3 separate regions of the Homo sapiens genome follow, and regions 2 and 3 are each linked to region 1. Evidence: promoter capture Hi-C in 16 types of primary human blood cells and fetal thymus (Javierre and others, 2016). All regions are on one chromosome and are shown on one strand. Each heading gives the region's core, a stretch centred on a gene start or on the middle of the fragment in contact. The rest is flanking DNA. Distances are from core to core; before and after follow the strand shown.

What was found. Contacts are between HindIII fragments. The CHiCAGO score rates a contact against its expected background, and 5 or more counts as called.
Region 2: a contact is called between a fragment that was not itself captured here and the fragment with the promoter of ZP2 in region 1, in 5 of 17 cell types (total CD8 T cells, total CD4 T cells, naive CD4 T cells and 2 more). The highest score is 11.8, in total CD8 T cells.
Region 3: a fragment that was not itself captured here is called in contact with the fragment with the promoter of ZP2 in region 1 in 13 of 17 cell types (total B cells, naive B cells, total CD8 T cells and 10 more); the score reaches 14.8 in total B cells.

The regions. Positions count from the first base shown.
Region 1 is chr16:21,210,098-21,213,304 of GRCh38, reverse strand. ZP2 (zona pellucida glycoprotein 2) reads left to right here and starts at 1,731. Exons shown (of 19, transcript NM_001376232.1): 1 at 1,731-1,819; 2 at 1,910-1,998; 3 at 3,113-3,196. The coding sequence starts at 1,758. The HindIII fragment of the contact is 1,261 bases long and covers 966-2,226 here.
Region 2 is chr16:22,641,566-22,644,685 of GRCh38, reverse strand. No RefSeq gene overlaps it. Among named protein-coding and RNA genes, the nearest start is that of LINC02890, 30 kb to the right of the region's middle. The HindIII fragment of the contact is 3,044 bases long and covers 288-3,120 here.
Region 3 is chr16:22,693,306-22,696,402 of GRCh38, reverse strand. No RefSeq gene overlaps it. Among named protein-coding and RNA genes, the nearest start is that of LINC02890, 81 kb to the right of the region's middle. The HindIII fragment of the contact is 1,092 bases long and covers 1,177-2,268 here.

The DNA.
Region 1 (3,207 bases), core at 482-2,981:
GGGAGGCTGACACGGTTGGATCACTTGAGGCCAGGAGTTCGAGACCAGCCTGGCCAACATGGTGAAACCCTGTCTCTACCAAAAATACAAAAATTAGCTGGGCTTGGTGGTGGGCGCCTGTAATCCCAGCTACCCGGGAGGCTGAGGCAGGAGAATCGCTTGAATCCAGGAGGCAGAGGTTGCAGTGAGCCAAGATTGCGCCACTGCACTCCCACCTGGGCAACAGAGCAAGACTCCATCTCAAATACATACATACATACATAAAAGTAGCGGCAAAAACTGCAATCACTTTTGCACCAGCCTAATAATTGCAAGTGTCACCCACCACTTGAATGGAGTCTAAGCCTTATATCCACCTATTTTGGAACATGGGCTGCAGACATCTAGTTATCTCAAAGAGTGTGAGAGATGTTGAAAAAACACAACCATCAGGCCTCAGGAAATCTGAGTTCTCCACCTGGTCCCTGACATTGTTGGGGCAAGTTGCCTTGCCTCAGTTTCCCCACTGGGAAACTTCCAAGTGCTTTACAACAATATAACATTCTTATTAGATCACTACTCCCTTTTACCCAGAAGTTTTACTTTGAGGAATTTATCTTGAGGGTTACCCAAGGATATGTATCAGAATGCTCATCATGTTACTGCTTATAATGATGAAAAATTACAAGCCACCTTATGCTCATAATTAAGGAAATTATATAAACACAGATTTATCTCAAATTGAATATTATGCCACCCTAAAATGGTAACAGAGAGCTTTATGTTTAATAGTTATAAAGTGACAGTAGCAGATTACAAAACAGTATTTAAACTTTCCTCCCAGTGTTTTAAAAAAATTGTGTGTGGTGTTTGTAGAAACATGTCTAAAGTTACTCACCTAAATATTAGCAGTGGCACTATTATGAGTGACTTTTGCCTTTTCTCTGTATCCTTCTGAAATTGTATCTTTGCGGTAAGCTTAAGCTTTTACACTTGGGGGTCAACAAGGCTTCATTCATTTTTTTAAAGACACTTCCTGTGCATTATCAGGGTAACTTCTGCAGTAGCCAGAAGACTAGATGTTACTTAAAAGGTTTTAGGGTAGGTGCAATGGCTCACGCCTGTAATCCCAGCACTTTGGGAGGCCGAGGCACGTGGATCACCTAGGTCAGGAGTTCGAGACCACCCTGACCAACACGGTGAAACCCAATCTTTACTCAAAATACAAAAATTAGCCAGGTGTGGTGGCGTGCACCTGTAATCCCAGCTACTCAGGAGGCTGAGGCAGGAGAATTGCTTGAACCCAGGAGGCAGAGGTTGCAGTGAGCCGAGATTGCACCAGTGCACTCCAGCCTGGGTGACAGAGTGAAACTGAATCTCAAAAAAAAAAAAAAAATGTAGTGGTGTGAACAAGACTTGTTTTTTTCTCAATAAAGCCCATGATTCTCTTTGGCTCTACATTGCAGTTGTAAATAATTTGCCCAAAAGATCCTAATTTCCCCCATAGTTATAGGGAAAACACCAATTCACTCACCTGGAGCTGATTTCAGCAAACTCTGATTTCATGCCTGGCCCACAGGGCAGCTGGCAGAATACCCGGCGCAAGCTGTCAGGAATCAGAGGCCACTTCCTTCCCCAATCCTTCCGTTTCAGCTGGGAGAATGGGACAAGATTCAGGTGCCCCCAATGGGGAGAGGGTGTGGATGCGGCTGGCTTCCTGCTATAAAAACACAGAGCAGCCTACCCTCTACCTGGTTGATCTGGTAGTGTCTTCTGCTATGGCGTGCAGGCAGAGAGGAGGCTCTTGGAGTCCCTCAGGCTGGTTCAATGCAGGCTGGAGGTGAGTAATTCTGGAAGTGGAGGGAGGGGGTATGGTAGCTTTGTTTGTTAAAGTCCATTCTTCCTTGACTATCTCCCTGTCTCTTTCCAGCACCTACAGGTCGATTTCTCTCTTCTTCGCCCTTGTGACTTCAGGGAACTCCATAGATGTTTCTCAGTTGGTAAATCCTGCCTTTCCAGGTATGTCTCTTGGGTGACAGAAGTCTTCTTAGCAGAGAAAACAGGTTGCAGCTGGAAGGCCTAGCTGGCCAAGAAACACAGGCCTGGCTCAGACAACCTCCATTCACCCCCTTTATTACCTTGGTCAGGTTACTGGATCTTTCTTCTGCTAACCTGTAGACTCACTATACCTGCTAAATGAAAACTCAAACACTTGCACTGCCTTCCAATCCCTCACTGCCTCAAGCTTTATGGTATCCACAGAACAGCAAACCACCACACTAAGCCCTCATCTTTAGGAGCAGCAATCTTCAAACACAAACTCATGCTTAAGGAAAACATCGACATAACAAGCAAAACTGGAGCTGCTCACTTGACGTTCACCTGAGCCAGAGGCTGCAGAGTAGCAGATGATGGGCAAAACTTGATCTTTAAAAAAAAAAAAAAAAATGCAGCCAGGCGCCGGGGCTCACGCCTGTAATCCCAGAACTTTGGGAAGCCAAGGCGGGCAGATCACCTGAGCTCAGGAGTTTGAGACCAGCCTGGCCAATGTGGTGAAACCCCATCTCTACCAAAAATACAAAAACTAGCTGGGTGTGGTGGTGGGCACATGTAATCCCAGCTACTTGGGAGGCTGAGGCAGGAGAATCGCTTGAACCTGGGAGGCGGAGGTTGAGGTGGGTTGAGATCGTGCCACTGCACTCCAGCCTGGGTGACAGAGAGACTCCGTCTCAAAATAAATAAATAAATAAATAAAAGTCCTGGGACTTACCCAGGACTTTGTTTAACATCAATTTGCAAAACCTGTTGACAAAGCTTTTGTCAGTTTTTCGGGCCTGCCTCCATCTGCTCCACTGTCAAGGTGTTGACCTGGCTCCTACAGACCTGCTTGTCAACCCTAACCTGGGCTTCTTACTGGAACACTTCAAAAGCCCTGGGTACCTGATATTTTCCTTACAGTTCTTGGCATATTGTATTGTTGTCTTGGTCACTTGTTTGTGAGCTCTCCCAGGGTAGGGGACGATTCTTGCCTCCCTCATCTGGAATCCCTCCCATCTGAGAGGAGTCTATACACTTTTGTAGGAGTTGCATCACTCATGACTCAAAGCCCCCAAATGCTTCCTTTGCTCCTTAGGCACTGTCACTTGCGATGAAAGGGAAATAACAGTGGAGTTCCCAAGCAGTCCTGGCACCAAGAAATGGCATGCATCTGTGGTGGGTAGGTAACGT
Region 2 (3,120 bases), core at 560-3,059, 1.4 Mb before region 1:
ACCAAACCCCAGTGACACGCAATTTACTCATGTAACATATCAGCACACATACCTTCTGAACCTAAAATAGAAGTTGAAAAGGAAAAAAAATCACTGATCAATATAGAAATGTTATTTGTAATGCATTTGATAACATGTATTTTACATTGTCTTCTGAATTTTGCCAAAAAAAAAAAAAATGAAGTAGCTTGACTCTACCTAGATTATAAGGTAGAATCAACAAGAATATCCAATGGACAGGTTGTGGAAAGTGAGAAAAATGGAAGATTTAACGACAACTCTAAGCTTTTTAGGTTGAACAATTGAAAGAACAAGAAGTCTCTATAAATATGAACCAGATCCCACATTTCTGACACAATTTAGGACAGTCAGGATATCCCAATTTATCACTTGCTGTTCAATAATAACGATGGTAATAACAATTACTATCTTTTTATTGAGCATTTACTATATGGCAAGGCATTTTATATGTATATTGCATTTAATCCTACACCCACTCCATGAGCTAGACAGATTTTTAGCCCTGTTTTTCCCCATGAGGACACTGAGGCTCAGAAAAGTTAAATAACTTGTCAAGTTCACTTACTAGTGGCAGGGCCCATAATGAAGCCCAGGACTCTATGGCTGCAAGGCCCATGACCATAATGGCATGGCATACTGTCTCTTCAATTCCATAATTTTCTAACTACTTATCATGAGTCGGGCATAGGCTGAGGCATTTTAAATATGCAATTTCATTTAATCTTTACAATAATCCTATGAAGCAGGTATTCTCATTCCCATTTTCAAATGGAAGCTAATTGAAATATCCAAGCCCTACTTCCCTTGTTCCAAAACCACGGTTCTCCAGGAAAATATGATAGAGCATGCTATGGGCTGAATGTTTGTGTCACCCCAAAATTCATACGTTGAAACCCTAATGCCCTATGTGATTGTATTTGGAGATGAGCTTCTGGGAGGTAATTAGGTCATGAGGGTGGAGCCCTCTTGATGGGATTAGTACCTATATATTTATTTATTTGTTTATTTATTTATTTATTTTGAGACAGAGTTTCACTCTTGCTGCTCAGGCTAGAGTGCAATGGCACGATCTCGGCTCACTGCAACCTCTGCCTCCCAGATTCAAGCGATTCTCCTGCCTCAGCCTCCTGAGTGGCTGGGATTACAGAAGTGTGCCACCACGCCTGGCTAATTTTGTATTTTTAGTAGAGATAGGGTTTCTCCATGTTGATCAGGCTGGTCTTGAACTCCCAACCTCAGGTGATCCACCCACCTCAGCCTCCGAAAGTTCTGGGATTACAGGCATGAGCCACCATGCCTGGCCAGCATTAGTACCTTTCTAAGATGAGATGGAGCACTCTTGAGTTCACTCTCCTTTCTCTCTCTTTCTCTCTCTCTCTCTCTCTCTCTCATCCCTCACTCCACCCCCATCTCTCTCTCTTTCTGTCATGTGAAGATACAGCAAGAAGGTGTCTGTGCAAACCAGGAAGAAAACTCTCTCCAAATCAAATCATCTAGAACCTTGATCTTGGACTTCCCAGACTCAGAACTGTAAGAAAGAAATTTCTGCTATTTAAGCCACACAATCTATGGTATTTGTGTTACAGCAACCTGAACTAAGATAGGGCGAGTAGTGTCCCACCCACCTGCCCTGATATTAGCTGGAGGGGAACAAGAAACTGAGTAAAGTGGGAGAGGGAGTACAAAAAGGCACAAGGCACAGTCTCTGCATTTAGGGGGCGTGACTCTCCTGGGGAAGATGATCAATTACCCACAGCCGGCCAAATGCCAATATGTCTCAAGTATGTGCCTTCCTTCAGTGGGTAGCCCACCCACACTGAAGGTTCGCCCCATGCCACAGACACTACTGTACATTGAGGATACAAAGATGGACCAGAGGAAGCTCCCACAAAATCTATGAGCAATGAAGAATTTTGGAGGCATATGCATTCTGTAAATGATTTGCAAGGCTTATTTAAATGCATCATAACTGCTACTGAGCCGAACGTCTATTCCCAGTTCTTTTCCTTAAATGTTAAAGACTAAAGACAGCACTTACCATCTGCTATAGCTTGAGATCTGCTCCTTCCCCCAAGGTCTCCCGACATGGCAGGCCCTGGCTGGCAGTCCCATATGACACAGCACACAACCCACCGGGAACATCTAACAGTCAGAACATCTGCTGGCCTTTTCTCTGCACTTTGCAGCTGTTTTAAACTTGTAACCGTTCCCTCTCTGAGGTCACTTCAGGCTTGTGGACAAACATGAAGTGTCTTAGGGTATTTATCTCAGTCTCCAACGAGTCTGGGTCCTTGGACTTCTGCTTATTTATTTAACAAATACTTGCTAAGCACCGGCTATGTGCCAAACATTGCTCTTGATGATACAATGGTGAACAAGAAAGATGCAGGTTCTGCCCTCATGAAACAAAGTCTACAAGGGAAAACAAACTTTGAGTAAGTTAACTGGCTATTGAGAAGATGTACAGAGTATGGCTATTGGGAAGATGTACAGAGTACACCAGAAACATATCATGGTAGATCTAAACCAGCATGGGGTCTCCTGGAGTAAGTGATATCTGAGCTAAGAAATGAAGCAGTTGTTAGCTGGATGGTAGGGGGGACAGACGAATCATTCCAGGCAGAAGGAATAATGTGAGAAAAGGCCCTGAGTCAGGATAGAGTATGTCAGCTTTGAATAAGAGAAAGAACTATAGAACAAGGAAGAGAGTGATGTAAGATAAAGCAAAGATACTGGATCATATTGGGCCTGACAGGTCATCTCAGGGAGTCCATATTTATCCTGAAGGCAGGGGAAAGCCATTAAATGATCTAAGCAAAGGAGTGACTGGATCTATTTGCATTCTTAAAGATAATTCTAATGGCTGTGTGGGAAGAAATAAGAGAACAAGGAGGAAGTAAATTGCAGTCCTTTGCAATTGTCCAGATGAAAGCTGGCCATTTCCAGTGGCTAAACCATTGGAAATGAAATGGATGGTATCTAGGCATGTTTTTGGTAAGTGCAACAAAACCTGGTGAGAGACTGCATGAGGCCAGAGACATACAGGCAGCCAACAAGCATATGAAGGTAGAGAAGTTAGCATGGAAGCTGATTTAACCT
Region 3 (3,097 bases), core at 473-2,972, 1.5 Mb before region 1:
GAATACAGATACACATTTGTAAATAAATATTAGAAAATTAAGCTCATCAGTTCATCAAAAGAATAATACACTTATATTAGGAGCACAAGAATGGCTTAACATCATAGCTGGGCATCATGGTGGGCACCTGTAATTCCAGCTACTTGGGAGGCTGATGCAGGAGAATCTATCACTGTGATCCATTATATCTACCACTTAAAGTAGAAATTTCAGATGCTGTATGGTTGTAAGATAAACCTATAAAAATGAAGAGCTTTTCTATCAGTAATTATCACATAGTACTTTTTATTTTATTTATTTATTTTTTTGATACAGGATCTCGCTCTGTTGCCCAGGCTGTAGTGCAGTGGTGCAGTCACAGCTCACTGCATCCTCCATATCCTGGGCTCAAGCGATCCTCCCACCTCAGCCTCCTAAGTAGCTGGGACTTTGATACAGGATCTCGCTCTGTTGCCCAGGCTGTAGTGCAGTGGTGCAGTCACAGCTCACTGCATCCTCCATATCCTGGGCTCAAGCGATCCTCCCACCTCAGCCTCCTAAGTAGCTGGGACTACAGGCGTGCCACCGCATCCAGCTAATTTTTGCATTTTTCTTCGTAGAGACAAGGTTTCTCCATATTGCCCAGGCTGGTCTCAAACTCCTGGCTCCAGTAATCCTCCAGCGTCAGCCTCCCAAAGTGCTGGTATTATAGGAGTGAGCCACTGCGCCCAGCCCCACATAGTACTTTTAATAATTAAATAAACTTAGCAAAGTCAGTGTGGGCAATATGAGAAGGTCATGGAATGCTAGTCCAAGAAATCTGGTATTTATGAAATATATAGCAGGAAAAATTCAAGATGCCAAATAACATAAATAGGTCTATGTCTTTGGAGATGGATAGCAGTGAGGATTCTGAAGACAGAGAGACCCTTAGGAAATTATTGCAATAGTCCAGTCAAATGGTAGAGGAAAATTGAGCTGAGACAGAGGTCTTTCCAGAGGAATAATCGCTGGTACTGCTTTGGAGAAATAAACAGAATTTGTTAACTAAAGTCCAGACTGGGTAGACTGTTTTTACTACTAGGCTAAGGAACACGGGTGAAGAGAGTATTTCGGGAAAGATGACATTGAGTTGAGTCAAGCTGATTTTGAAGCACTCCCAGAACACCCACTGGTTAGAAAGGCAGATCAGAAGCTTCAAATAAAAGCAGGGACTAAAAAATTAACAGAGAGATTATTTAAGAAGCAACGATTCTGGAGCTACGAGAGGACATGAGGTCACCCAGGGAGAATGTGTAGCCTGCAAGGAAGGCTGAGACAGAACCTCAGAACATGCTGACATTTAAGGGATGGAATGAAAACAGCCGGTCAGTAAGAAGTTCTAGTGGTTGTTGGAGAGCCAAGAGCATGCAGAGCCCCATAAACTAGTGAAGAGATCCAAAAAGGATCACAAACCCAGCAGTTTGGAATGCCAAAGCAGGATCAAGGCGGAGGAGGAGCATTCAGCAAAGCAGCCTGCAGGTCCTTAGGAGAAACAAGTTCAGTGAAATGGGCATCTTGCAGCCCATTAAGCAGAGATAGAAAGTAGGTGGACTAAAGAATCCAAACGGCTTTTCAGTAAAAGTGGGTAAGAGCTTCAATTTGGGGATCAGGTTAACATGGATTCACATCTCAGCTCTACTGTTGGACATTTGTCAATCATTCCATATCTCTGAGCCTAACTTTCCTTATATGTAAAATAGGATAGTCCCAGTACTATCTTCGTAGGAGTTATTGTGACAATGGAGATAATCCATTAAAGGGGCTTAGATTGGCATCTAACATAGTTAAGAGGTCAGTAAACTTGGGGGTATTTGCGGGGCACAGTGGCTCATGCCTGTAATCCCAGCACTTTGGGAGGCCAAGGCTGGTGGATCACTTAAGGTCGGGAGTTCAAGACCAGCCTGGGCAACATGGTGAAACCCCATCTCTACTAAAAATACAAAAATTAGCCAGGCATGGTGGCGCAAATCTGTAATCCCAGCTACTCAGGAGGCTGAGCCAGGAGAATCGTTTGAACCCAGGAGGCAGAGGTTGCAGTGAGCCAAGATCGTGCCACTGCACTTCAGCCTGGGAGACAGAGTAAGAGTCCGTCTCATAAAAACAAAATGAAACAAAACAAAACTTGGGGGTATTATTGTTATTTCAATAAAATAGATGATGATCCCATCTGCTGAGAAAGGGATGAAAGCAGGTGGAAAGGGAGGAACAGCTGCTTACGTGTGTTTAAATAGACTACTTCCCAAAGCTTTTTTTTTTTTTAAATAAAAAATGACCAGACAGCTGAGATGAACTTGAAATAGACCTGGCCATCCAACCCAGCCAGACCACTCTTCCCAGAATCACTCACTGACTGAGCACTGGAGTGGTGGGAGCGGAAGAAATAAATTGTTGGGAGAATTGTTGGCTTGAAGAATGGCAAGGGTTAAAATGATCTGGTGTGGGAAAAGGACAGGATTTGAGCACAATAGGGAGAGCTCACTTAGACTTGGAGGCCGGGGCAGAGTTGTAGGAGTCATACCAGGGAAAGATCAAGCTAATTTATAGGAAGGAAAAAATCTAGAAATGAGGAACTTGAGTCGGAGGGGGTGATTCAGAGAACTGAGCATATAACCAGTCATGCTTCTTCCATTTTTTCGTATGGTCACTCTCTTACCTAGATACCTATGATACATTCAATAATCATTACTTTGGCCAGACACGGTGGCTCACACCTGTAATCCCAACTCTTAGGGAGCCCAAGGCAGGAGGATTCCTTGAGCCCAGGAGTTCAAGATCAGCCTGGGCAACATGGTGAGACCCTCTCTTTACAAAAATTTTAAAAATTACCCAAGCATGGTGGCATTCACGTGTGGTCCCAGCTACTCAGGAGGCCACTTAAGTCCAGAAGGTCCAGGCTGCAGTGAGTCATGTTCATGGCACTGCACCCCAGCCTGGGTGACAGAGAGAGAACCTATCTCAAAAAAAAAAAATCATCATCATCATTTCTTAAAACAACATTAATCATAGGTCACCTTTTTAGAGGCAAGCAGGCATTCTGTTAAACACAGTCCCCATATCAATTCTATGGGTCAAGAAG